Regions from separate parts of the Homo sapiens genome. Here regions 1, 2, 3, 5, 6 and 7 are each linked to region 4. The links are contacts of gene promoters, found by promoter capture Hi-C in blood cells and fetal thymus (Javierre and others, 2016). All regions are on one chromosome and are shown on one strand. The core of a region is centred on a gene start or on the middle of the fragment in contact, and the rest is flanking DNA. Distances in the headings are between cores, read along the strand shown. Region 1 overlaps PCGF5 (polycomb group ring finger 5). Region 2 has its middle 60 kb from the start of PCGF5. Region 3 overlaps PCGF5 (polycomb group ring finger 5). Region 4 holds the start of BTAF1 (B-TFIID TATA-box binding protein associated factor 1). Region 5 has its middle 2.7 kb from the start of EXOC6. Region 6 holds the start of LOC124902480 (a long non-coding RNA gene). Region 7 overlaps XLOC_008559 (a long non-coding RNA gene).

The links. The method cuts DNA at HindIII sites, captures the fragments that hold promoters and counts their contacts. A CHiCAGO score of 5 or more calls a contact.
Region 1: a fragment that was not itself captured here is called in contact with the fragment with the promoter of BTAF1 in region 4 in 1 of 17 cell types (fetal thymus); the score reaches 6.1 in fetal thymus.
Region 2: a contact is called between a fragment that was not itself captured here and the fragment with the promoter of BTAF1 in region 4, in 4 of 17 cell types (naive CD8 T cells, fetal thymus, naive CD4 T cells and 1 more). The highest score is 7.9, in naive CD8 T cells.
Region 3: a fragment that was not itself captured here is called in contact with the fragment with the promoter of BTAF1 in region 4 in 1 of 17 cell types (naive CD4 T cells); the score reaches 5.4 in naive CD4 T cells.
Region 5: a contact is called between a fragment that was not itself captured here and the fragment with the promoter of BTAF1 in region 4, in 2 of 17 cell types (naive CD4 T cells and non-activated CD4 T cells). The highest score is 5.5, in naive CD4 T cells.
Region 6: a fragment that was not itself captured here is called in contact with the fragment with the promoter of BTAF1 in region 4 in 5 of 17 cell types (naive CD8 T cells, total CD8 T cells, activated CD4 T cells and 2 more); the score reaches 7.0 in naive CD8 T cells.
Region 7: a fragment that was not itself captured here is called in contact with the fragment with the promoter of BTAF1 in region 4 in 1 of 17 cell types (fetal thymus); the score reaches 5.5 in fetal thymus.

The regions. Positions count from the first base shown.
Region 1 is chr10:91,243,027-91,246,762 of GRCh38, reverse strand. All of the region lies in intron 3 of PCGF5 (polycomb group ring finger 5), which reads right to left. Among named protein-coding and RNA genes, the nearest start is that of PCGF5, 24 kb to the right of the region's middle. The HindIII fragment of the contact is 9,970 bases long and covers 1-3,736 here.
Region 2 is chr10:91,158,762-91,162,832 of GRCh38, reverse strand. It overlaps a transcript of PCGF5 not described here. Among named protein-coding and RNA genes, the nearest start is that of PCGF5, 60 kb to the left of the region's middle. RefSeq lists silencers at 1-165, 266-355. The HindIII fragment of the contact is 4,422 bases long and covers 223-4,071 here.
Region 3 is chr10:91,264,380-91,268,100 of GRCh38, reverse strand. PCGF5 (polycomb group ring finger 5) reads right to left here. Exons shown (of 10, transcript NM_032373.5): 8 at 3,581-3,670. Among named protein-coding and RNA genes, the nearest start is that of PCGF5, 46 kb to the right of the region's middle. The HindIII fragment of the contact is 5,208 bases long and covers 1-3,721 here.
Region 4 is chr10:91,922,518-91,926,710 of GRCh38, reverse strand. BTAF1 (B-TFIID TATA-box binding protein associated factor 1) reads right to left here and starts at 2,941. Exons shown (of 38, transcript NM_003972.3): 1 at 2,621-2,941. The coding sequence starts at 2,634. RefSeq lists enhancers at 2,399-2,598, 3,209-3,318, 3,666-4,193 and a silencer at 2,659-2,958. The HindIII fragment of the contact is 1,276 bases long and covers 1,885-3,160 here.
Region 5 is chr10:92,843,906-92,847,811 of GRCh38, reverse strand. It overlaps a transcript of EXOC6 not described here. Among named protein-coding and RNA genes, the nearest start is that of EXOC6, 2.7 kb to the left of the region's middle. The HindIII fragment of the contact is 3,318 bases long and covers 295-3,612 here.
Region 6 is chr10:91,197,689-91,201,480 of GRCh38, reverse strand. LOC124902480 (a long non-coding RNA gene) reads left to right here and starts at 3,003. Exons shown (of 3, transcript XR_007062240.1): 1 at 3,003-3,080. It also overlaps a transcript of PCGF5 not described here. The HindIII fragment of the contact is 2,159 bases long and covers 712-2,870 here.
Region 7 is chr10:90,982,140-90,986,201 of GRCh38, reverse strand. It overlaps XLOC_008559 (a long non-coding RNA gene), which reads right to left. Exons shown (of 6, transcript NR_131214.1): 4 at 657-742. Among named protein-coding and RNA genes, the nearest start is that of XLOC_008559, 37 kb to the right of the region's middle. The HindIII fragment of the contact is 2,263 bases long and covers 1,589-3,851 here.

The DNA of each region.
Region 1 (3,736 bases), core at 173-2,672, 680 kb after region 4:
ATAATTTTTCCAAATCAGCTCAAAATATGAGAATGATCTTAACTTCTCTCTTTCCCTTCATTTACACATTTACTCACCAAGCCACATTCAGAGCTCCCTCTCAATATCTGTCCCACCTATTCTCCCAACAATTCTTCCATTCCTTCAATTAATTACCATTCTGCTTTGAGCAGAGCAGAGACATGTTCATAATCAATCTTCCTAAAGTGCTAATCTGATTGTGTTAGTTCCCTGCTCAAGGACTAATTTCTCTCTACTACCTGACTTCATGTGTTTATATAACTTGAGTCCAACCTACAAACCATAACTGGTACTATTTGCTCACTGTCTCCCTTCTCTAGCCAACTGGCTTATTCAATTATCCCAAGAATTCCTTGTCTTTTCCAATTCATTTTTCTCCCTCATGTTTTACATCCTGGCTCAAATACTCTCTGTACTCTCCGACCAAACCAATGCTACCTTATTCTTCAAGACAAGGTCATTCGTAAAGTTTTCCCAGACTATTTAATAGTAGGAGTGAATAAAAAACAGCACTTCTCACTACATACAAACAGATCAGGAACCAACTTAGTTTCATTTCTGTTTCCTCTGAAACATTACTTACTACTTTGATGCCCTTTCTGTCCTTCCAGCCCAATTTAGGACTAATCTGTTCTATGGTCAGTCATTAAATCACTTCCTTACATGTACCCTTGATTTGTCTCTCTCTTACTTGCTCAAAATTATTTAGTACAACTCAGGTTAAATCCAACTTTCCATCAACTCTGCACTGGCACCCATGGCTGGATAAAAACACAACCATACTCCTTCAAATTCCTAACTACAACACAAACATGCCTTTAAGTTTGCCAGGAATCATACTACACTCACAAGTGCACTGATCCTCTCACTCCCCTGGACAACACGCTTTTTTCTCGCCCTAACTCTCCAAATCCCTTTCCTCTATCCTTAATTTTGACTGACAAACACTTTCTTCTCAATGAAAAATGTCAAAGCAATGAAAAACAAACTTCCACAGGCCCCGGCCACCATACCTACCTATAGCATCTGCACCATGTACTCGCTGTCTGCCTGCCTGTTGCTACAATTTTTTTTGTCAATGCTCCCACTGAAAACCAGTGTCTCCTCTTAGGCTGTGAGATTGCATTCCCTACTCTCCCACATGATTAACTTTCTGCTTTCTACTGGATCATTCCCTTCAAATACGCCATTATTTCTCCTATATCAAAACAAAATAAAGAACCTTCTTGGCTGCACTTGACAGCACCCCCCCACCCCATTTCTTTGCTCCCATTTGTAGCAAAACTCCTTGAAAGAGTTGTCAATACTATACTCACTGTTGCTAATTCCTCTCCCTCCTTTCCTCTCTTAAAACAACCCAGTTAGGTTTTTGGCCTCACAGCTCTAAAGAAAGTGCTCTTTTCAAAGTTGATGAACTCCATGTTGCTAAATCCAACCATGAATTCTCAGTTTTCACCTTACTTGTACCCATGAACAACAAATGACACAGGTGGATCACTCCGTCTCCTTTGATATACATACTATCTTCACTTGACTTCTAGAGCACCACACACTCCTGGATTTTCCTCTACCTCACTGGTTGTGCCTTCTCAGTTTCCTGTGCTGGCTCCTCCTCTTCTCTCTGAACACTTAATGCTGGAGTTCTCCAGGGCTCAATCCTTGGTCCTTTACTCGTGCCTCTCTGTACTCACTCCCTGAAGTGATCTCATCCTGCTTACAGTTTGAAAGACCTTCTATATGTTGAAGACTACCAAATGTTTTTCTCCAGCCCAGACCTCTCCCTTTGAGTTCTAGACACATATATCCACTTACCTTCCTCTCTTCTCTGAAATGAATAACTCAGCATGTCCACAATTGAAGTCCTGATCTACCCCTTCCTTGCTCTATTATTAATCTTCCCAACTCAGTTAATGGCAACTCCATTCTTCCAGTTGCTCAGGTCAGAAATCTTAAAGTCATGTTCAACTCTTTTCTTTATCCCATATCCTATATCCAATCCACCAGCAAACCTTGCTGGATCTACTTTCGAAATATATTCAGAATATGAGCATTTCTTGTCCCCTCTACTGCTACCACCGCTCACCAGGGTCATTGCAATTACTTTCTAACTGTTCTCCCTGCTTCTACCCTTGCCTTGTTATACGCGCGGTGTTCTCAACACAGTCATCAACATGTTCATATCGGATCAATCCTCCAACCAAAATCCTGCAGAGGCTCCCCATTTCATTCAGAGTAAAAGATAAAATGTTTACAGTGGCCTACATGGCCCTTCATAATCTGGAATCTCATGATCTCTCTGCTCTTGTTGCCCAGTATTCTGTCCCTCACTCACTGTTCCCCAGCCGCCCAGGTCTCCTTGCTGGTCGTCCAACAAGGCGTAGATACACTCCTGACTTAGGCACTCTGCACTGGCTGCTCCCTTTACCTGGAATAGGCATGCTTTCCTAGACCTATCCATGGTTAACCTCTCACAGTCTCCAAGTCTTCGCTTAAGTCTCACTTTCCCACAGAAGCCTATCATCACCATCTTATTTAAAATTGCAATCTGCCCCCACTTCACACTCTTGACCTCCTCACCTCACAACACTTTCCTCTTTCTTGCCTTTGCAATTTTCACTTTCTAACATACCATATAAATTACTTATTATATGGTTTATTGACTGTCTCTCACTACAAAAATATTAAATCTACAAGGGCAAAGATCTTTATTTTGTCTGCGAATGGACCTCAAGCACCTAGAATAGTGCCCAGACACAGCAGGCATCCAGTAAATATTTGCTGAATGAATGATTCCCCTCATGGAGCTCTCCATCTTCCTTCTATTGTCTATATAAGTGATGACCAATAGAAATATAATGTGAGTCAAATATGTAATTTTAAATTTTTAGTAGGAACATTAACACCAGTACTTTATACTTTTTATATAAAACTAACTTTAATGTTTTGCTATATATTAAAATATCTTTAATAATACATTTAGTAATTTTTATTTATTGAACAATAAAGTTATATTTAGTGGAAAAATATTTACACTGCTTCAGGTTTTAATTGAAATTAAATTAGAAATCCCATTCCTCAGTTGCACTAGCAACATCCAAAGTGCTTAAGAGCCACATGTGGCTAATTGCTACCATACTGGAGAGTACAAATACAGACTGCTTGTTCCCCAGGCCTGCTGCACAACTGTCATATCCCTTCACCTCTCTGCTATGCTAGAGTCATTTATTCTTTCTTGGTTTATGCTCCAGCACATCTCCCAATAGCTTACTGAGAAAAAGTACATAGAAGGTAAATTTTTTGCTACATGTGTCACAGGCAATTTAGGCTTCTAATGAAGGAGCCTAAATTCCCCTTATTTCTGGCTAACAAAATCCAATTATGTTCTGGCTGCAATGTGGCCACCTTCAGGGATAATTCATGATTTGTTAAAGCATTTCAAAACCCACCACATCCCTTTACCTAGTGGCTGTCATGTGACCTAGTTTTGGCTAAAAAGAAGCCTGCTGTAGGAAACTTTGGTAAAGATCTTCCCCTCCCCACAACCTCCTTAGTCTCCTGGTATACTCAGGCCTCTGAGGTCCGCTCAACTATCACCATCACCAGTTTGCTTTCTAGCTTTCAGTTTCTGCTGACATCTCTTCTGCTACCATTTCTTCTTATCCTTTAAAAAGTGTTTACTGAGAACCTATCATGAGGAGCTATCCCAGCTGTCAAA
Region 2 (4,071 bases), core at 1,184-3,683, 760 kb after region 4:
TACCGTGGGTTTGTTTACGCATTGCTGCCCGGCTCGGGGCACAGCCCGCACTCCCTGATTGGACACAAACTGGGGCACAGCCTCTCGCCGCCGCCCGCCAGGCCTCCTCGAGCCGCCGCCGCGCAGCTCCCGGAGCGTCCTGCCGGGCACGGCCCACGGCGGTGCCCAGGCCTGGAGGGGACGAGCCGCGGCGGCTGCCCCGGGCGGGCGTGAAGCCAAGCTTTCGCTCGGGGCTCGCAGTCTCCCACCTGTAGTGGCCCGACCTTGGCAAGGAGAAATTCGAAACTTCTCAGGCCGGAGACTTCGAATCGTACAGCCTCTGAGGGGGCACCTTCTCCCCCCACAGACGGAGGAAGCGTGCCCTTGAATAGATGGAAGGCAGCTCGAATGTCAGTATGCCTCCCTGGCGATGGTCAAGTCCAGGCTTCCCGTATAAGCTGCCCTCCACCCGAGAGCTCGCAGTTTCTTTTCCTGCCTCCAGCTTCTTTGCTTCTAATCGCAAAGTCCCCCCACCCCACCCCACCCCCGCCACCCCACCAGAAGTGACCTTGCCGCCCTGATGCTGAAGATCCTCCAGTGACTCACCATGGCCTCGAGCCTTAATGCCTCATTCTCAGAGTCCTCAATAGCTGGGCCTCCATTTTTCAGTCTCCCCTCCACTTCCCTACCCTCACCCCAAAGCCTCCGTTTACAGACAACACCTGAAATGTGTCTGTCCTTTGACACTTTATTTTGATCCTTCTCTGTTCTCTGCCAGAATACCCCTTAGCCGCCTCCACCTGTCAAACTTTGTTGGACTCAGCTCCTGTAGCCGTCTCCTACCATCTCTGTGCAGTCTTCCTGCTCCCCCAAGCAGAATCCCCCCTTGTGGCTGGCATCATTCTGACCTGGGGGTCAGTTGTGTGCATGTGCTGTACCCTCTCTGATCTGTGGATTCCTTAAAGAGGAGTCTGCTTTTAACAGAGCTCTGGTGATGGGAGAAATGAAAGCTGTAAGACTAATATTGCCTCCGAGTGTCTGCAGCTCTGGTGAGACTGGAAAAGTTCAGGAGTCTTTATCAAGAGGCTCTCCTGATAGGTCCGCAAACCTCATCTTGCAGGAAGCAAACACTTCCAAAAACTGAGCATGCCCTCCATTTTTCCTGCGTCTCTATATCTCCTCCCCACCACACCTAGCTATGTGCCCTCCATACTCATAATGGGCACTTAAGTAACCCTTGAGGAATAAAATTGAATTCTACAGAGATGTTCCTTAAGCCAAGGCTGGCGGTGATCAAAGAGAATAGAGTAAATCATGAAAAAGTAGACATGAACCCAGTCATTTTACAGCTAATTCCTAGGCTAAGAGCCTTCCGGCCCTGTTAGGTAGTGTGGGTTTGTCGCTGTCTGATCACACACTGAAGTAGACCCTGACCCTTCTTGACTCCTGGGACTGCTAGATTTTTTTCTCCGATGCGCTGCTTGCAGTCCCATTAGGAAAAGTGTCTTTGAACTCTGCAAGTGAATCCAGCGAAAGTATTCTTTCCCAAGCGAGTCAATAGCAATAATTTAATGCAGCAAATTAGTTACAAGTGTTGAAAGAACTGGACGTTCAACTAGGGTAAGGTGAGGCAATCCTGAGATTAGCAACTGCTGGACGTGCCTTCTCCCCTGAGGCTGGAGGGGCAAAGAGAGGAGACAGCCGGAACCCTGGAGGGCTTGTCCAATAGGAGTTGGAGCCACAAAGTTAGTGCAACTACTGCGGCAGACATCTTCCAAAGTAGGGGATGAGAGTCCCCCTGGCTTCTCCCTGCCTCCCACCCTCCAAGCCCACCCAGTGGTGGAAAGCAGGAGAAGCCAGTGGACAAGATGACAGAGGGCAGGGCTCAGAATCCCTACAGAATATGTGACAGCCGCAAAAGGAGAATGGGTCTGAGAGCCCAGCGGCAAATGACTGGCACCTGGGCTTGGGTGCTGCACCTGGTTGCCTCTTCCTTTAGGCCGGATTCCGCAGTGCAGCAGGAACTTTCTCTTCCCGAGGCCTAGAATTCTCTCCTTCTTACTTGTCCCTCTTTGCCCTTCTGCTTCCATTACCGTTCTATCCTCTTCTTCGCCGTCACTCCCTTACATTTCTTTTTTCTGTCTCGTCTTGTGTACTCTGGCTCTCGTTTTTTCTTTGTGTTCCCATATATCTCCGCCTGACTTCTTTTCCCCCCCAGAGTCTCTTCTCCCCTCTTCTTGTCCTACTCCTCCCTGGGCAGGATGGCAGCTTTCTTCAGCATGAAGGAGATGACCAGTTGCCTATGGAAGGAAGAGATTAGGAATTATCCTGTTGCTGCCCTTCCAGACAGTGTAGTAGATATTTTACAAACGTTCTCATTTAATCTTCATCTCACTCCTACTAGCTGGGCAACATTTAATATAATCTGGTGACTTTGCTATTGCCTGTCACAAGGAAGGCTTTGTGCCCGTCACCAACAACACTGCTGACGGTTCTCTTACCTTTCCTGTACGTGGTTCCCTGCAACCTTTCTTCTTATCCTACATCTTTTCCTTTCATTAGCACAGATACTTCGCCCAAATCCCAACGCCCAACAGTCTAATACATCCGCACTTTAAATCCCCAAAGACTGAGAATGGCTATTTAGAGGAGGTGCATTTCAGCTGGCACTTGAAGGATGGATAGATTTTCAACAGATGGAAATGGAGGAAGGGTATTCTTGGTGGAAGAGTAAATTATGTGGTTTACGTTGACTGAAACAAGGGATAACTAAGAAATGAAGCCATATTTCAGAAACTTGTCTTCAGCTCTCAGTTCTCTGAGACTATTCCGAAACACAGATTAACCATGAGCGTATTAAATATAGATATGATTTATATAATTAGAATCATAGTGTTTAAAGCCAGAAAGAATTTTCAACATTGTTTGGTGCAACGTGTCCAGTTTTAAGTGAGGGAACTGAAGCCCAAAAGACTTAATACCTGGGATATCATAATGATTAAACATGGGCATTAGAGTTTGACTACCTGTATTCAAATCCCTACTTTAACAAATTTTAGTTTATCTGACCTTGAATTATCTGTGGGTAAGTTTTCTTATCTATAAAATAGAGAAAAATGATAGAATCTACTTCAGTGGGTTGTCATGAGAATGAAATATCGTCATATGTAAAACACTCTTGCCCAGTTCAGACTGCCATAACAAACTACCATAAACTGGGTGGCTTAAACAACAAACATTCATTTCTCACAGTTCTGGAGGCTGGAAGTATGACATCAGAGTGCCAGCACAGTCAGGGGTTGGCTGAGGGCCTTTCTTCCTCCTCTGGAGTGCTGACTTCTCATGGTATCCTTACATAGTGAAAAGACACTGAGCCTCGGAGCTCTCTGGGGTTCCTTTTATGAGGGCAGTCATCCCATTAATGAGGACTCCACTCTCATGACTTAATTACTTCCCAAAGGCCCCACCTCCCAATACCATCACACTGGAGGGTAGGATTTCAACATATGAATTTGAGGGGAGCCATGAACATTCAGTCAATTATAGACATGTTATAGGTGCCTGGCATATAGACAGTACTCATTAAATATAGGCAAAAAAAAATTATGACTTCCTGTGGCTATCCAGCTAGTAAATACCAGAACTAGAACTGGTACCCCAAGTTTTTGTGGCCCTAATTGTATGTTCCCTGCATTATTTGAAGCTATGTCTTATGATGCTTGTTTAACACCATCTGTGAAGATATGGTGCTCCTCTAGTCTGCTGTTTAAAGAAGTGCTCAGTTATCTTTCTAGCTCCAATTTCTCTACATTTCCTGCTTCCTGCTTCCTGCTTCTGCTAGCCCTGGATCCCCCCACCAGTCCTCAGCAATCTTAGCATACTGTGAAGTTCCAGGGGAGAAAGGGAGCAGGAAAAATTATCAGCAAACCTGTATTTTATAGTCAACTGTTTAGGTTACAAGTTCTGATATAGTAAAATTTTACTAATTTAAATTTCAAAGGGCCAAAAATATTGAGTTAAAGATATTCAAATTATCTGTTATTCTTCAGCCTACAGGGTGTCAACTCTACCAGCTTAAATTTTAGTAGTTCC
Region 3 (3,721 bases), core at 495-2,994, 660 kb after region 4:
TATACACACATACGCACAGACATGGTGACATCTCAAAACAATAAGGTTAAATATGGATTATTCAATATTCAATACATTGTATTTCTGATTTAAAAACAATTTGAAATAAATTAGAATCTTAACCTTGTGTTTTTGTATAAATAAATTAATCTTGGGTAGCTTAAAATGTTTAATACAAAAAAGCAATAGAAACAAGAAAAAGAACCACATAGTGGTCATTAGTTTAGGAAATAAGCTGACTCCAGCCCAAGGCAGAGCTAGTTAGCCAATAGGTAGACTAATAAGAGCTCTTCAGACATCCTGGCATCTTGCTGGCAGTGGATGATTAAATAAGAAGGGATGTGATCACAACAATATGCTACAGGAGCTCAATCAAGAAATGATTGTTTTAGTGATACTGCTGCATTCGTCCATGTCACTCAACTGTCAGAATTCATCTATTAATATTATAATAATTTGTAATTGGAAGTTGAACAAAAATTGAAAATTTAACAGAAAAAAAGGAAGCTGAGATTCAGATAAATAAAAATTATCTGTAGGATATATTTTGCATAACCATTACCTTGTAAAAGATAACATTTTCATTCAATTTATTCTTTGAACAAGTATTGATTGAGTATATATGCTGGGCACTGCCCTAGGTGCTGGAGATTTAGCAGTGAACAAACAAAAATCCCTGTCCTCAGATTATATTTTACTTGGAGGACAAACAATAAACATAAATAAGAGGCATAATATGCCGGAGGTGGTATGAAATACTATGGAAAACAATAAGGCATGAAAAGGGAGTAAGAATGCCATCGGGAGAGGGGGTTGTAGTTTTAGAGGAGGTCAGAGGCCTCACTGAGAAGGTGAGGTAGAAGCAAAATTATTTAAGTGAAGGGGGTAAAGGAAACGAGGTAGGTGGATACCAGGGGAGGTGAGGGCAAGTGGGGTGTGGTTGAGAAAACAGGCCAGTGTGGCTGGAGTGCTGTGAGGCCAGGGAGACAGAATAAACGAGGAGACAGAGTATCTGGGGAAGACTGTATGGGGGCCACATATGTAGGTCTCTAGAAAGATTCTGAATTTTACCTAAATTAAACATTATTGGAGGAATCAGAGAACGGAGTGGGCATGTTCTAACCTGTCCTAAGAGGATCACGCTGGCTGCTGTGTGAGGTGAAGATAGAGGTGGGACAAGGGTGGTGGCACAGAGCCTTGCTAGGAGAATGGCGATGGTGGGTTGGACTAGTAGTGAAGTGGATGTAGTGAGACATAGCTGGATTCTGAATGTATATTTTGATGGTGAAGGTTACAGAATTTGCTAAGAAAGGATGGATGAAAGAAAAAGGCAGCAATCAGTGCTGACATCAGGGATTTTGGTCTGAGCAACTGGAAAAATGGAGCTACCAATCTTAGAACTATTGAGGTTGTGATGACTGAGGGTGAAACAGGTTTGGAGAAGGAAAGCAACTAAAAAACAGGTTTGTCACACCAAGAAATGAAATGGGCTAATATATTACTTTACTGTTGCACTAAATGTAAAAGGTAGTAATTTTTCTGTTTATTGGTTTAGTTTCCACCTGAATGATAAACCATAGCTACTGAATCACTTTTTGAACTTTTATTAAAATATGCCTTAAACAACCAAAAAATTTAAACTATTCACAAATATGTAATCAGAAAGGTAATTAGAGTAAGGACTGATTTAAATCATAGTCTCTTACTAAAAATGTCTATAAATTAGCTCTTTCATACTTTGACATTAAAATAATGGCAGCTGGGGCAACTTTGGGAGGAGTTCTTGTAAAGAACAAGTGAGCCACTTGTAGAGGTCGTGCAGTGGATGACCACTTACATCTCTTTAACCTTAAGGCAAGTCTATTCATCACGATGATTTCAGTCACTAAAACACACTGCAATGCCCGCTAAACTATCAAAGAAAGCTGAAGTTACATTCAACACAATATTATGTGTAATATCATAATATCCATTCCTCAACAGTATTGGGTAAGAAAGAATTTACTACCTGTGCAATCTGTACCTGGTACCTGGAACATTTTGGTTGTAAGGATTAACTGAGGGTGATTGATGTATGTACAATCATTTAAAACATTATAAAATGTTACAGAAAGGCAGGTTGTTAATTTACCAAATACAAAGGTAGTTAGATCTTTAAAAATATGAGCCACAAACATGTATGACAAGTTCTTCAAGGCCACACACTATTTGGTGGCTGGTGTTAGAATGTAATTTTTTCTTCCTGCTGCTAGCGAAAGCGTTCAGTCTCACAAAGAAGGCTTTAAGCAGGGCTTTTACTACATCTCAAGCAGGAAAAAAACTTCTGATTTACAAATGTAGGTGCTTCATTTATTATTATATGATATCAAGACATTTCTTCTGCAAAGAGCCAAATATCTTACCCATAAGACAATGAGTTTTTGAGGCTTGTTTTATAATAATTCCACAAATGTTTACATTCAATATAAATATGTTTTGGAAATATGGTAACATGGCAACCCTCATTATATCTGGATTCTTATTTCTTATTCTTGTGTGAGGTCAAATTTCTTAATTTTGTTTTTTTTTATGATTTACATTTTCATGAGAAAATATAATAAATCTAGTTTACAGAATAAATTACACAGAGTATGGCATATTGTATCATAAACACAGAATCTTAATGTCCAAAAGATAATCTTAGATGTTATCTACTCCAACCTTATAGCCAATCTTAATTCATATTTATTTATTTATGCACTCAGATTATGAAGATAATTTCTGATAGCATTACTGCTATATTCCTTAGTGTCATATATGAGTCCTACAATCCCTAGTACCTCAAATTTGCCTAATATCCCATGCTTGAACCTAAGTTATAGTTACTACTATAGAACTTAGTAGAACCTAAGTTACTACTGTATTCCTTAGTCTCATATCTCAGTCTTATATATTAGTCCTACAGAATTAACCAGAATCAAAGACATAGTTCAAAATACAAAATTCACCTTTTGGGTTTTTTGGGTTTTCTTTGGTTTTCTCCTTTGAATCATTTCTCCCATATGCTTAGGGCCTAAGGCACAATAATCTAATTCTGGCATCAGAAAGCACTGCAAACTCACTTACCCTTAAGTCCGAGTTTATATTTTCAACGAAAAGGAGGTACCTGAAAGAAGATTATTTAGATTCTACCCTATGTGTCCCCTCTACCACAACCAAAAATAAACACCCTTATCAACCATTAATCATATTAGGGGAGAACTTAAGTTTCCCCCACTCCCATTCCATATACATAAATGTTCCAACAACTTATTGGGTTTAAAAAATATGTCATTTTCTCTGTCTTGGTTAGTAGAGTCCTGAACATATTTAGATAGGGTTTTAATCTCACTTTAAATCTAATACAATCACATTTACCACAGACCTTGATTTTATACATAGGACCAATTATCAGAGTGCTAGGAGAAACAGTAGCAAGAAAAACCAGTTTCTTCTCCTTCCCAAGCTAGTTTGTCTTTTTTAGTTTCTAATATTGTTAAATTTGAGTAACATAATGGTATATAACTAAATAAACACATAGGTAAATATAAAAGCAATTTACGTTTTCGCCTCTTAGTCGCCATCTTGTCATGTAGATGAATTCCATAGTATGATCCTTCCCCATAATTTCACCATTGCACAGCACATCCAACTTTAAAAAGAATCATTATAGATCTATTAACATAATGTTGAATTCAAAAGT
Region 4 (4,193 bases), core at 1,692-4,191:
TAAACTTACTATGAGACTTATCAGGTGATACAATGTTCAAGGAGATGAGTACTTCCTTTCCTAGGGTTGAGTGTGTATTTTCAAAAGATTGGATGTAGCTTTACAGTGACAAAAGGGAAGCGTCTCTCTAAAGGTGTCTTGGACTAGAGATGGTGGCATGTTCTAGGATTGTGGTAACTGGTATAGAAAGAAAAATGATCAGCTGGAGAAAGATTAGAAAGGCAGAATATACAGGATTGGATTTGGTAACTGGCTGGACATGGGGTGTGGGAGGAAAAGGGAAGTCAAAGAACATTCTCAAATTTCTTGACCAGACAATTGAGGGAATAATGGTACTAACTTACTATTTCCCATCTGTTGGAAATTCTGGTGGAAATGTCCTAAAAATATTACAGTTTCTCTTCAGTTATGCATATGAAATAAACAGTGCAAAAAATATTTTAGATTTGATTTTAGCATATGATTTTTATCTCCTGGGCTATTTTCCACCTATTTTACGTAAAATAGTATTAAAATGAGTCTGCACCAACAGGAGAGAAAGGAAGTTTAGTTAGCACAGAACTGTGCTTCGTGCATGGAGAAGGCCAGCTTGAAACTAAAATTTGCCATTCAAAGAAATCCACAGGTGAAAAAGTCAAGAATTGACACTATCCCCAAAACACACAAGTGTCTCAAAATGTTTTCCTTGGGCTTACTACTGAGCCCAAGGAAACTAAGCACAGAAATAGCTCTTCCATAAAAACATGACAGGCTTTTAAAAAAGTGAACGAGAAAAAAATCCACAGAAAAAGAGTGCTACTCTTTGAAACACAACATCCAGAACAAAAGACAGTACCTTCAAAACCCACTCAGTCATTGAGAAATATTAACTGTCCTAAAATTCCGTAAAGAGATTAGTGTTGGCTGGGCGCGGTGGCTCACGCCTGTAATCCCAGCACTTTGGGAGGCCAAGGCCGGCGGATCACGAGGTAAGGAGATCGAGACCATCCTGGCTAACACGGTGAAACCCGTCTCTACTAAAAATACAAAAAACTAGCCAGGTGTGGTGGCGGGTGCCTGTGGTCCCAGCTACTTGGGAGGCTGAGGCAGGAGGATGGCCTGAACCCGGGATGCGGAGCTTGCAGTGAGCCGAGATCTCGCCACTGCACTCCAGCCTGGGCTACAGAGCCAGATTCCTTCTCAAAAAAAAAAAAAGAGATTAGCGTTGCCCGAAAATTAGGTTCTTTTTAAACACTTTCATTTTGTCTTTATAAAGCTACATCCAATCCTGTGAAAATGCACAGGTTGCTCTAAGAAAAGAAGTACTCATCTCCTTAAACACTATTACCTGATAAATGTTATATTAAGTTTACATATCAATGCATTTACAATGTATATATTCATGCATTTATATGGGAGGTAACAAATTAGAAGATACACCTTTCTATATTTGCAAAAATGTAAAATGTCACTTGTATTCTCTCAAGGCAGTTTTATTTAAAAAAAAATTTCCTCACATTGAATAGATTATAAAATAAAAATCAGATGCCCCATACTACGGTACCTAGCAACCCCCTTCACCCAACTCCCATGGGCTTCTCCCACACACTATTTCATCAGTCATCTAGGGAGTCTGTAAGGAATGGGTTATCCTTTCCCTTGCAAAACAGATAAAACTTGTGCACTTAATACGCTCAAAGAATGTGTTCAGTTAATTATAAAAAAATGAAAACTATTTGTTTTCATCATTTATTCCTTCAGTCTATATGGTAAAAGAATCCAATTCTCATTAAAAGTTACCATATCAACTCTAAGGAACTTGGTGAATCCATCCGATCACTATCACAGAGGAACTATCCCTTAATTACATGTACAGAGGGTCACCAAATTCCGCTTACAAAAGCTTTCCAACCATTCTATCATACCGGAGGAAAAAGTAATGTTTCTCCTATAGCTATACAAATAAATGTCGTTAGTTTTTCTATAGTTTTCCTGGGCTTTCCTGTTGACAGGCAATATTTCAAAAGAATATAAGATCTGTGATTTATCTTCCACGCCTTAGTTACGGAAAATGATGCTAATACGATAATTGGCTTAAGGTTACAACGCTGACGTTGGAATGTTTACTGCCAAACAAAAGGAGAAATTATACTTAATTTTAAAAAACATCTCAGGAAAGAACATACCCCTAAAAACGTAAATTAAAACTGGTAACATAATTAGACGGTCTCTTAGATAATAGTAATTCAGGTTTCCCCTCCATCGACAGTAACTACCAAGTTTTCCCATGAAATGGAGGTTAGGGACCAGCCTTAGAATACTGAGAAAGATAAGAGACTCCCCTAGAATCGAAAGAGGGAAGAGAAACCAGAGAACAGAAACATGGTGAGGAAAGAGAAAAAACAGCTCTAACGTGCCAAGGGGTCTATTAACAAGAAAAAGGCATTATTGAACCGATTTACCCAGGAGTAACCCGAGCCCAAACCCCCGCCGACCACGGGGCGAACTCCGAAGTCTACTGAAGAAAGCTCCAGAGCCCAGTGACAATGAGAACCGCTCTTCTCTAGGAGTGGGGGCTCTAAGAGGAGACCATGCCTTCCCTGAATCGCCTTCCAGTTTGCTCGTCAGGAGCAAGACCCACCTGGAGACCGCCATGGCCGGGCGCCGGCGGTTCGGAGCTCCCCGCGACCTACGCGCCGCGCAGCTGAGGCGCTAGTTTCCAGAGAGCTGAGCGGCGCAGGCCCAGGCCGCGGAGCACAGGGGAGCGGCCGGTGCGGCGTGGGGCGTTCCAGCGCAGGCCCTCGGGCATCTGCCCTGCCGCCTACCCGAGCTCGTCCCCGCGGCGGCCGGTAAGCAGGGGTCCAAGACGGTAGCGGAGGCGGCAGTCCTCCGACCCGCACGACTTCAAACCGGGTACCCTCAGCTCCGCTCTTTGCTGACGCGGGCGTCGGCACGCACAACTGAGCGTCAGCGCGCCGGAAGTGACGTAAGCTCACCGACAGGAGCTTAGCTCGGCGCGAGCGCCTTTGGTTTGGCGGCACGCGCCTAAATAAAAGCGCTTTGTGCTGATGTGGAGAGGGTGTCTAGTCTTAAAACTAGGGAAGGAGGTGAAGTAAGGGTCCCCTTATTTGACAGAGAAGGAAAAAGGCGATTTAGTCCAAGTCCTGGAACTTCGAAAGCTTGGTTTCTAATTCCACACTACCCAGATTCTGCTTCCCACCGTACTGCATCTAGGAAGCAAGATCAGAAGGACCTTAACATGCTCTTGTCCAGGTGGTGAAGCCAGTGGGAGGAGTGAAAGCAAAAAGTCGCTATGACACTGAAGAAATGGCTCAGATGTTTGTCATTATTTGCCAGAAGTTCTGCCTAGGTATTGGAGAGAAGGTCTTCTGACCAACGATTTTGCCAAGTTTGATTTCTCAATTGTTTATGTTGTTTGTACCATCATTTTCTCAGCCAGCCAGATTTGAAAACTACCATTTTTAAATTTTTGTTCCTTTGGGGGACTTATCTGGCTTTTCAATATTTTTAAGTTCATTAGGCTTTTAAACACTTCTGCCAGGCCCTTATCATCTTACACTTGATTTTTTTTTTTTGACCGAGTTTCGCTCTGTCGCCCAGGCTGGAGTGCAGTGGCGCGATCTCGGCTCACTGCCAACCTGCGCTTACCGGGTTCAAGCGATTCTAAATGTGCCTCAACCTCCCGAGTAGCTGGGAGGCACACGAGCCCCACGCCGGGCCAATTTTTTGTATTTTTTAGTAGAGACGGGGTTTCGCCATGTAGGCCAGGCTTGTCTCCTGCTCCTGGCCTCAAGTGATCTGCCCGCCTCGGCCTCCCAAAGTGCTGGGATTACAGGTGTGAGCCACTGCGCCCGGCCCTTAAACTTGATTTTTATGCTAGTAGTCAAAATAATATTTCTCCAATTTTCAGTTCAGCCCATTTTATAGGCCAACAGATTAATCTTCAAAAAACCTCACTGCTTTTTATCATGTCGCTCCTATGCTTATAAAGCATGTCCATTGGCTTCTCATTACCTGAAGAGGCTATGTCTCAATCCTTGAGTCTGTTTTTCATCTGTAAAATGAGGCTAATGAGAAGTACTGCAGAAGATTGTGGGAATAAAATGAGGTCATGAATCTAGAAGAGCTTACAAGAACTTTGTAAACCATAAAGTAGTATATATGTATGTAAAGAGAAAGAAACTAACAAGTAC
Region 5 (3,906 bases), core at 704-3,203, 920 kb before region 4:
ACCAAAGTCCGTGAACTCAGGTGCCCCCAGGTCAGAGTAGCTGGGTTGAGAAGGGGTGAGAGCTCTTGAAAGGGGGTTAGCAGCAGGGAGGTGGGAGAGAGAGGCAGGGAGGCTTGGACAAAGGTATCAGTGTAGAAAAAAGTCGTGCTTAATGACATGTTTGTGGGACACTGAGTAAACCAGTTTGTCATGATCAAAGCAGGGAGGAAGGAAGACTAAACAGGAACAGAATGGAAACCTAGCCTGAGGAACAACTACTTTCTGCTCTACATTAATCCAGGGCTTTGAAAAGCTTCCCTTTGAGTCAACCAAGCTCTTTATCCAGCTGTGTAACTCACTCACCCTTAGTGAGCTTTTACTTGAAACCTACCTCCAGCCTCCTCCCCACAAACATCCTGGGAGGTGGTATTGTGCAATAGTTAGAGCATGAGCTCTGAAGACCAGTGTCCGAAGACATTAATTCTTGGATTAATATCACTTGACAGCTGTGTGACATTGGGCAAGAACCTAGTTCTTTTATATGTCAGTTAAATGACTGTAAATGACAATGGCAGTGTCTGCCTCATATTGCTGTCCCATGGTGTATGAGTTTTCCATTGTTGCTTTAACAAATCACCACAAATTGAGTAGCTTAAAATGACTCAGACATATTATCTTACAGTTCTGTACGTTAGAAGTCTGTCACAGGTCTCACTGGGCTAAAAATCAAGGTGTCAGCATGTCTGTGTTCCTTGCTAGAGACTCTGCGGGAGAATTTGTTTCTTTGCCTTTTCCAGCTTCTAGAGGCCACCCACATACCTTGGCTTGTGGCCCCCTTCCTCCATCTTCAAAGCTAGCAGCATTACATCTCTCTGACCATTCTTCTGTGGTCACATCTTCCTCTGACTCTGACTTAGGCTGGAAAAGATGCTCAGTTTTTAAGGACCCATATGATTAGAGTGGACCCAACCATTTAATCCAGGATAATCTTCCATCTCAGGGTCCTTAACCTTAATCACATATGCAATACCCCCTTTGTCATGTAAAAATAACATATGCACAGGTTCCAGGGATTAGAATGTGAGCATCAGTGGGACCCACTGCCTACCAAACTTAGGAAGGGCCCTATAAAACATTGCTAATGCCCTCCTTCCTATTAATCTGGAATCTTCAGAGCAATGGATTCCAGCTATACACATCCATTGAGCTAAGACAGTCTTCCATTTCCTGCAGAGAGACCTAGCTTTTCATTCTTTTTGTGGGAGGGGATAAAATTTGTCTTCTTTTTTTTATGTTTCAGTTTCAATTTTCAAAAGGTTATTTTCCCCTCTCAAGAACTTCTTAGGTCGAGCACAGTGGCTCACACCTATAATCCCAGAGCTTTGGGAGGCTGAGGCAGGAGGATTGCTTGAGCCCAGGAGTTCGAGGCTGCGGTGAACTATGATAATGAGCAAAATGAGGAGAGCAGGGCATGTGGCACAGGCCAGTTTCCTATTTGACCAATGTCTCCAGCTGGGGAATTACTTTCCTGATCATTCCTTCCCTAGAACTCTACCCCTTTTCTTCACCAGTCCTGATACCTTTTATTCCAAAGCTGGCTCCAAGTGCCCCTGCTCTGGGAAACCAGCCCTGCTTAGGCACTCCTCAGGCCAGCCCTGTTTCAACACCTGCCCATAGAGATTACTTCAACATAAGCAGCAGTATCTTCCCCGAAATTCAAGTGAACATGGAAGGAAGTCCATTTACCACTTCTCCTTCTGAAACAGTTTTTGCTGGTTCCCTCTGAGACTTCTGACAGTTCCGTGAGTACCTGGAGGTTTTAGCTAAGAATTCAAAGCTAAATGTCCTAAATAACTAATTGCACATTTGTTTTGTTTGTTTGGTTGGTTTTTTCGAGACAGAGTTTCGCTTTTGTTACCCAGGCTGGGTAACAATGGCGTGATCTTGGCTCACTGCAACCTCCGCCTCCTGGGTTCAAGTGATTCTCCTGCCTCAGCCTCCGGAGTAGCTGGGATTACAGGCACGTGCCACCACGCCCAGCTAATTTTGTATTTTTAGTAGAGACTGGGTTTCTCCATGTTGGTCAGGCTGGTCTCAAACTCCCGACCTCAGGTGATCTGCCCGCCTCGGCCTCCTAAAGTGTTGGGATTACAGGCGTGAGCCACCGTCCCCGGCCCTAACTGTACATTTTAATCATGGACATAGATATATCAAATATGTCAATGTGGGGTGGGGGAAGCCTATCCAAGGGATAAATGATTTTTTTTTTTTTTTTTTTTTGAGATGGAGTCTCTCTCTGTTGCCCAGGCTGGAGTGCAGTGGTGCGATCTTGGCTCACTGCAACCTCTGCCTCCCGCTTTCAAGCGATTCTCCTGCCTCAGTCTCCTGAGTAGCTGGGATTACAGGTACATGTCACCACATCCAGCTAATTTTTGTATTTATAGTAGAGATGGGCTTTCACCATGTTGGCCAGGCTGGTCTCACACTCCTTCCCTAAAGTGATTGCCCTGACTTGGCCTTCTGAAGTGCTGGGATTACAGGCATGAGCCACCACGCCCAGCCCCAAGGAGTGAATGATTTAACGTCTGCACTGAGAAGGTTGCGGAGTAGCAGGGCACAGACAGGCAGATTGCAGATGCATGTGGAATTATTTTTTGGCAGTGGATATTGACTTCCAGAGATCAATCCAAAATCTCTTTTCAGGACTCCTGGAAGAAGAAAGATACACCAGGAAGACCAGCAGGACAGGAGATGCATTTTGTGTCCAGTATAAAAGTAATTGGCAAAGTAAGGATTTGACTTGTAAATAAACTCTTAGTCATTAGGAACTTAACTTTGCGCCTTTTATCTACAGACTAATGACCTGTCTTGGGAAAGCGCCTCCCTCAGAATGAGGTTGTAGAGTGCAACTGCTCTGGTCTGGCATTTAACTACTTGAATTCAAATTCCAACTCATCTCTTACTAGATGTCAGGCCTCAGGGAGTTACTTAACTTGACTAAGGCTCACGTTCTTCAAGTGTGAATTAAGGACAATAAGAATCCCTAGCTCACCAAATTATGTGAGGATTAAAGAAGATAATATATGTATTATGTTTAGCCTAGAGCTCAATCAACATTAGCATTGGCGACTAGGGTTATCAGGCATTTGCTAGTAAGCCAGAGAGCCCAGCATTTTAGCCTCCTCTTTGATAAAATAAAAATAAAAACCAGACACATAAATGTTCTTTTTCCTAATCATTAAAAAAAAACCTGATTGTGTATCAGGGTTTTCTGCATGTTTGGTGGATGTAAACCAACTGAAATATGTTTCCTGCTTTTGTAGAGAGGGAAACAGGAACATGTCTTTGGGTTGGATTCTTGGTTCCAGACCCATTTTAGTGAACCCTCTGGATCCTGCGCTTTTAAGGCAAGCACCTTTCGTTGTCCTTGGGAGCAGTGCTCACTCATCCTTGGAAGCACATATCATGGTGGTGAACAAATCACTGAGTCTGTCTCCATTTCCAGGAACTGCTCCTACATCAGGCACAGGGACGATGCCTGTATTGTTCACTGCCCAGCCCAGTGCCTTGCATATAGTAGAGGCTCAATTAATAAGTGAATGATCCACATGCAAATACTTGTCGTATTAAGCTTAATGTTGTAAATGGCATGTTTTTCTTTTTTTTCCTTTTTTTTTTTTTCTGAGACACAGTCTTGCTCTGTCACCAGGCTGGAGTGCAGTGGCGCGATCTCGGCTCACTGCAACCTCCGCCCTCCAAGTTCAAGTGATTCCCCTGCCTCAGCCTTCTGTGTAGCTGGGACTACAGGCACGTGCCACCACGCCCAGCTAATTTTTTTTTTTTTTTTTTTTTTTTTGAGACAGAGTCTCGCTCTGTCGCCCAGGCTGGAGTGCGGTGGTGCAGTCTCGGCTCACTGCAGCCTCCACC
Region 6 (3,792 bases), core at 542-3,041, 720 kb after region 4:
AAGCTCCTGTTTATGATTTGAATGAGTTCCCCAAATTTCATGTGCTGATAACTTAATCTTCAAATTCATACGTTGATGGCATTTAGAGGTGGGGCTTTGGGAGGTAATTAAGATTAGTAATGTCACTGGGGGGACCATGATAGGACTAGTGGCTTTACATGAAGAGAGACCTGAGCTGACACACTCAGCCCCTCACCATGTGATGCCCAGCTCAGAAGGTTGCAGAGGGTCTCCACCGGCAAGAAGGCCCTCACCAGATACCTCACCCTTGGATGTCCCAGCCTCCAGATACGTAAGCAATACATTTCTTTCCTTTATAAATTGCCCAGTCTCAGGTATTCAGCTGTAGCAACAGAAAACAAACTAAGACAGCTCCCATGAAAATGTGGTCTAAGTGGGCAGCTCTTCTCACTTTTATAAAACTTTCCCCATCACCTCCCTGGTGTCTCAGGAGTTCCACTTCACACTATTTTTCCATTTGCCTCTTGAATCTTGTGCTTGCCCAAGCTCTGACCATTCTCCCACCTGACCCTCCCCCTTTCCACTTCCCTCTGTCAACAGTAATCACGAACACAGCTAATGTTATCAACCTCCTACACAGCAAGCTCTAGGTTAATATTTTTACATCAATTACTTCATTGAATGCTCTCAACACCCTTATGAATTGGGTTCTATAATTGGCCCCACCGTATACAGGAAGAAACCAAAGCTTAATTTGCCCACTGTCCAATGACCACAAAGTGATGAATATAGGATAAACTAGATTGCCCACTAGAAAGGCCCCCAACTCTTCACCAGTACACAATCCTGCCTCTCAGCCTCTGCCAATTATGTTCAAATCTCCCACTGAGACTGTGTTCAAGACTCAATATCTTAAAAACAAAACAAAACAAACAGCACCTTCCCTTCTGGCACAGTCCCTTATAGCAGCACCTCAACAATGACAAATGCAATGCACAGCTTTCAATGCAATCTCATCCATACCTGTTGATATTAATGCTTATAAAATCTTCTCTTCTTCTTTCAAACATATATGCGCACTTCCCAGAAAGGGGCTACATCCCCTGTTCTTTCTATACCCTCACTCTCTCTTAACTAGATTAGTTGAACAATTTTGGGCACCGAGTAGGAAGATATTAATAATCAGCATAAAGAACCCTGGTCAGTAGTCAGGATACCAGAGTTCTGGTTCAGTTTCAGGCAATCCCCTATAGCAGACACTGTCACTGTCTCCTCCTCCCTCTTATCTCCTCCACGCTCATCTCTACATGCTGAAGGCAGCCTTCTTGAACACCTGTGGCTTTTATTCTGGCTCTGGGAGCAGGCTGGGCCCTCTCCCACAGTGAGGCAAAAATGCAGGGAAGTTAGCATCTCCAGGAAACAGCCCTCAGTCAAGGAGGATGGATAGTTGATGGGCAAGTAACCCAATTTCCCTGTCCTTTGGGTAGGATAGCCTGAAGCGTGTAGACTAGTTCCTAGAGTTCCTTAAACGGATTGAGCTCCAGTTGCCCACAGCAGTAATTCTCTTGAAACTATACCCTTTATTGCTTTCTTTTTCCTCCCTGTCCCACTTCTCTACTTTCCTGTTGATATTTCTTGGGAGAACCTCTCAACTAAACCACTTACTCTCAAATTCTTGTCTTGGGGTCTGTTTCTGGGGAAACCACACTAAAATTTATTCTCCTTTGTTTATTTACTCCACTTCCCTATCTGTCAAACAAGAGGGTTGCATAAAGGATTTTTATGGCCTCTTTGGACTCTAACATCCTAGGATTTCAATGAACTCAATCAAATTTCAGTATTAAACTAAAACTAGCCTTGAATGTTACTTCTTAACTAAAATACTGCATCATATTTTGGAGCCGTGGCTGAATTTCACGTACATTAATGTGGAAGATGCTGGGAAGCAGAGATCAGATCCCTCTTCAGAGAAGCCTTTGGGCTGCACTTGATGGGGATGTTGTTGGCCTCTTGCAGGCATGTCCTCAGCTGCAAAGATCCTCCTTGCCCAAGGTCACTTTCCCAAGGATGCAAGGACTGAGGGATGCTGGAGTATAAAGGCCTGGCCATCTTGGCCCAAGTCAAGACAACTCAGAGGAGTCATTCTAGTTCCAGAGCTCCTGCCATGCTGGCTCTACAGCTCAACTCCTTTTCTGCCCCCCTTGCTGCCTTCCCACCCTTCAAAGGGCATTCCCTAATAAACATCCTGGATACAAAACTACACCTGGGAGTCAGCTTCCCAGGGAACCCAACCTGTGACAAGTACATTTTCTACTTGTTTATTATGTCATAAAATTCACAGACTCTGGAACTTTGCTTGTGGAAGCAGGGATGATCCCTTGAATGCTGTAAGACCCAGAAAGTGGTAGAGACACAGAAGAAAAAACTAGGCTTTTAATAAAATGGGAGAGACAGATACAAACCAGCATGTATGTGATGCAGTTTCAGTTTCTGAACAAAAACAATAAATACATAAAAGGTCAGCATGGCCAGTGAAACTGAAAGCTAAGAACTCAGATGAGGCAATCACAGAGGGTGATGAAAGAGAAGAACATCTGAGAGAGGAGGAGAACAAGAATGGCCTGGCAAGAAAAGGAAGAAGACTAATACGAAACACACTCAGCCAAAGACCATGGGGTAGAAATAACCCATCTGAAGAAGGGCTCTTCATTGCACAAAACTACATCCAATCCTTAAGAGGTACTGCCCCGTGGTATGACAAGGCCAAAACGTCATCCTGGCAATTGCTGCTAATTAAACTCAGGATTGATTCAATGCTACTGAATAGGCCAGGGAGATTCCCATGGTGCTGCCACTAATCAGGGCCTTTACAGAAAACTCCCAAGAAGATCGAAGGACAGAGACAAGCTTGAACTCTGCAGCCCGTAGGCAGGTCTGCCTTCTAGAGAGAAAGCCAGTGATGCTGCTTTGCCAATGGTCATGCTGAAATAGTGGTTTGGGGTGACCTCCAGGAGAGTAGGGGTACTAGGGGTAGGTAAGGAGGGTGACTGAAATTTAAAACAAGGTGTCAGCAAAGGCATTAGTGAGAAGATGGCATCTGGGTAAAGACCACAAAACAGGTAAGGAAGTTGGTCTTATAGTTATCAAAAGGATGAGTGACTACACAGAGAGAAAGGAAAGTGTCCTAAGCAGGAACGATGCTGATGTCCAAGGTTCCCCCAGCAAGGGGGCCAGTGTGGTTGAGAATGAGCAGATGGGACTGAGGTCAGGGAGACAGGATGGGTCTCGCAGGCTCTTCTGGGCCACTGTAAGGACTGTGGGTTCAATTTAGAGAGACGGAAATCCAAGGAAACATAATTACATAAAATGACGTGATCTGACACTTCTCTTCCCCTTCTCTGGGTTTACTTTTCTCCACAGTATTTCTCATTGCCTGAAAAGTAAAAATGTTATATATTTATCTCTACCCATTAGAATGTAAGCTCTGTGAGGGCACGTATTTTTTGTCTGTTTTGTTCACTGATGTGGATTCACTTCCCCAATGTCTGGCACTTAGTAGATAATCAATATTTATTGAATGAATGAAACATCTTGAGAACCAGGAGAACTCTTTCCTAAATGGCAAAATGAATCCAGACAAAGAAAATCTTGTTTCTATTTCCTTGGAACGTCTGTTTTTAAATAAGTGTTTTTAAATAAGTTCACAATGGAAAAGGGCACAGGTAAAATATAATTGAAATTTAATATAACAAAATGAAAGTGTACTGAAAATAGGAAGGAAAAAGGGGAATATGGTGGGAGAGGATGATGTCCAGTACCGGTTGACAGAGG
Region 7 (4,062 bases), core at 1,471-3,970, 940 kb after region 4:
TGATTTCAGCCTTTGTTGCTCTAAATCCTGCTAAAAGGCCTCATCTGCTTAAATACTGCATTGAATGTAATTTAGTGGTACTGTAGTAACTTGGAACCTCCCAGGGACTCAGAAGAATCACTCTGAACTGAGTGTGATATCTGAAGGTCTGGGGTCTTGTCCTACGTCTGACAACTATAAACTGTGTGACCTGGGCAAACGCTGCTCTCTGAACCTGCTTTCCTCCCCTGTAGCATGAAGTTGAATAAAATTACCTCTAAGATTCTGTCAAGTCTTAATGCTCAAGGAGTCTCCTATAAGCATGGAGGTTGCAGAGAATGACATGCGTGTGTACAGATGCTTGCACATCCTAGAATCTGCTTTGTTGGGAGAAAATTCCTGCCATCAGATTTCTTTCAAATGGATGAATATATGAATATATCATGCTTATTTGCATCAGCTGCTTTTGCTCAAAACCAGCAGCTCAATATTCCCTGAATCACCAAAATAGATTGCTTTCATCAGCCTGTGAATATTCCAGGGGCTTGTGCATGAGTGGCCATTACAGTTTTAAAAATCCACAGGATTATTTTTTAAGTTGAGCAGAATGGTAGAATAGAAAGCCTGCTAACTTATTTGCCAGAATATTTGCATTGCAATTCGTGTCAACTTCTCACCTTGTGACATTGGCAAGCCATTTAATCCCACTGAGCTGCTGATAGAGATGCCAGTCAAGGTCAGCTCTGCTTACCTCACATGGTAACTGCAAATATCAAATGAAATGGAACTCGTGAGAGAACTCTGGAGCCTGTAAAGCTTATCAAAATGAAAGCAATTAGTATCATTACTTTAACACCTTCAAATCCACACACAGAGAATCTATTTCATCAGTTGCATTTGCCTGGGAAGAATATTTCCTTTTCAAAGTAGAGGATTTTAGTCAGTGTTGTCAGAATATAAGCAGAGTGAATACAAAGATTTATTTTGCCAGCTTCTGAACTTCCCAAGAGAATAATTCTCAGTAGTAAGAGTTGCTAAAACAGCATGTGAGGTCACCTGCTCTTAGCAACAATTGGTAAAGAAAGAAGTAGCCCAGCATTCTCCTAGAGGACCGGTGCTCACAATGGGGCCCTGCAACTGCAATGGGTAATTTTTCATGCAACCTGCAGCCACTGAGCCCCTGCTTCTGTATTAGTTTAGTCAGTTCTGTTCGCTCCTTCAGAGCATGTATTAGTTGAGTGGCTTGTCTTGTTAAAAGGATGGCTGCAAAGGTGAATCTAGTTGCAATACAAAAATCGTAGTCCTTAAGACTTTCCTATATCCTATTTCTGCTTCCAATTTCCTATTTCTGCAACTTTATTCCTTCCAGATTGCAGCAAGCTCACAGAGCAACTCCTCACCTATTCTCTTCTCCCAGTGTGGTCTCTCCGAAAAATCCTACCCATGAAAGAGAAAAACCCACAAAAGGTGTCATCTCCATAAATGCAGCATGCTGCTGTTTGCAGATTTTTGGAAAATGTTGAATTCAACTTCTCTTTCAAAATATGACTGAGAAAACATCATAGTAAGCTAATTGACAGCTGACTTCCTATTCTTCTTGCTGCAAGCTTAAGAGGGCTTTTATAAAGCAACAGTGAAGGAAATGCAAACTATATCAAGATTAGAATGGCTTACGAAAACTCTGCTTTTATTTACATATATTTACTGAGTCTCTATTTTCCCCTTTCCACTCTTGGGAAATACTGATGATCAGTGCTGGTGCCTGAATGGGAATTGGTGTGACAGGTCTGGAGGGGACAGGCTGAGGGCTGGGCTTAATCAGAATGGATTGGCAGGTGGCCTTGTGCACCACGCTGGTGATGGGGTCTGTTGTTATAGAAACCAGATTCCTCCGGGAGCACACAGGTAGGGGCAACAGGTCTTTGGGAACAGAGTGCAGATAGTAAACCCTGGAACAGTGCTGCAAAATTCAGTGCAGGCTGACAGGCAGACTCATGCACAATGCAACTGAGCATGACAGTCAAGCACATAAGAGAGACCAGCACTCTGTGTTCAGGGTTGAAGCTCTGTCTTTCCTTCCTCCAGGCAGATGTCGGTTAGCAGGTGTGCTCTGCCCTCTCCTCACCAAGGCAGAGCTTTGCAGGTGCTTGTGATTATGGAGCCAGCAAGAGTTAGGTCTTCTGGGAGCCTTTCAGCGGTACTAATGTCAGTTACTTGTGGGTTCCTATTTTTTTACAGTCAATTAACTGGAGTTTCACACAGTGTTACGAAAAACATGGATCCATGTGAGTTGCCTTCCTCTTCCTGCTCTGAATCTCTCTCTCACACACACAAACACACACACACACACATCCACAGGGTAACACAAATACAAGTAACAACCTTGACACACACTCTTACATAGGCCCATCCTCATCAACCTCCCCTTCATGGACCCACCTTCATAGGTATTTACATTTCTCAGGTTAGAGAAGGCTTGTATTTCAGAGAATAGAGCTCACCTGTGTTTTTAAACATTTCAGCTAGCAGGTAGACGTTTATTTTGATGTAAGGTGGTTGTCAGGCTTGCAGAAATTTGGGTTTGAAGTAATGAAGCTCCATCTCTTTTCAAAACAGCTAAACTGCCTTGGTTATGATTGTTTGTTTTTTAACTTCCCTGAGAGTTTTCATGGTGTGTGGTTTCAAAATAGCCCTGTCAGAGACTCTGAGGTCGACACTTGCTTGCTCACCAGTTTTTCCAGGATATAAGAAATGTGTAGGCCGCCAGACGGGAATAAACCTGGCCAGGGTGGCCTTGTTTTAAGGTGTCTGTGGACCAAGAACCTTTCTGCTCTGTGCCTCTGGACGAAGAATCTTGACATCAATTGCCAGTAAGACTCTCCCAGCCCAGACACCTCATGTTAGAAGTACCCAGTAGGGTTCGTTAACCCATGACTTTGTAAAGACAGCAAAAAAGGCCAACAGAGAGTGATTGACTCCAACTCTGAAATGAGAAGTATGTACAGTTTATTGCACAGGTAACCAGAACACATTTCTGCGTCCCACAAGCCATAAATAATATATAGTTCTAGAATCAATTTCCACGGTCTTTTAACCAAGGACTTGTCTGTAGGCAAATATCTCTATCTGATCCTGTTCAGATCTTTGTTCCTTTCCCTGTTCCAGTTCTCATATATTTGATGCCCTCTTCAGCGTCTCTTTCCATTTAAGTTCTGAGCCCGTTTATGTGGATGGAGCAGAGATACTGCTATGTGTTCGCCCAAGTCCTACTTCTGAGCACAAAGGAAAGCTCATTTCCGAGCTTCCCAGCCACTAGATGTCATTGACTGAGCCCTGCCAGTGAAGTGCTAGGCTGGTGATCAAGGCCACTTCCATGAATGCATGGAGCAGAGCCTTCCTCACGCCTCCCTCATACAGCCATACCCGACTGTGATGGGCGAGGAGCAGATCCTTCCTCACGCCTCCCTCATACAGCCATACCCGACTGTGATGGGTGAGAAACAAACCTTTATTGTGTTACTCTAGCGAGATCTGGAGATAGTTTGTCACAACACTCAGAATAGACTCTTACATCACGGTTGGAAATACTAACTTTGAGGAATTCTTAGTTTGTCTGTCTACTATAGCTCAAAGTTCAGACTTTGAGAATATTTCTTGTTGACCATAGATGTGCCCAGAACTGCTCTGATCTAATGCAATGCTTATTGTCTGGTGTTCCAAGAATGGCTTCTCTGTATGCAATGCTTGAGTTATCTATTTTTTAATATGCTACCTGAGTTTCATTGCATAGCAGGGGTTTAAGTTATGTAGCTTAATGATGGAGTTATGTTCTGAGAAATGTGTCATTAGGCAATTTTGTCATCGTGCAAGCTTCAAAGAATGTACTTACACAAAGCTAGATGGTGTAGCCTACTGCACACCTAGGCTATATGGTGTAGCTTATTGCTTCTAGGTTGCAACAGCATGTTACTGTACTGAATGAATACTGTAGGCAATTGTAACACACTAGTGTTTGTGTATCCAAACATTTCTAAACAAAGAAAAAATACAGTAAAAATATAGTACAAAAGATATAAAGTAATA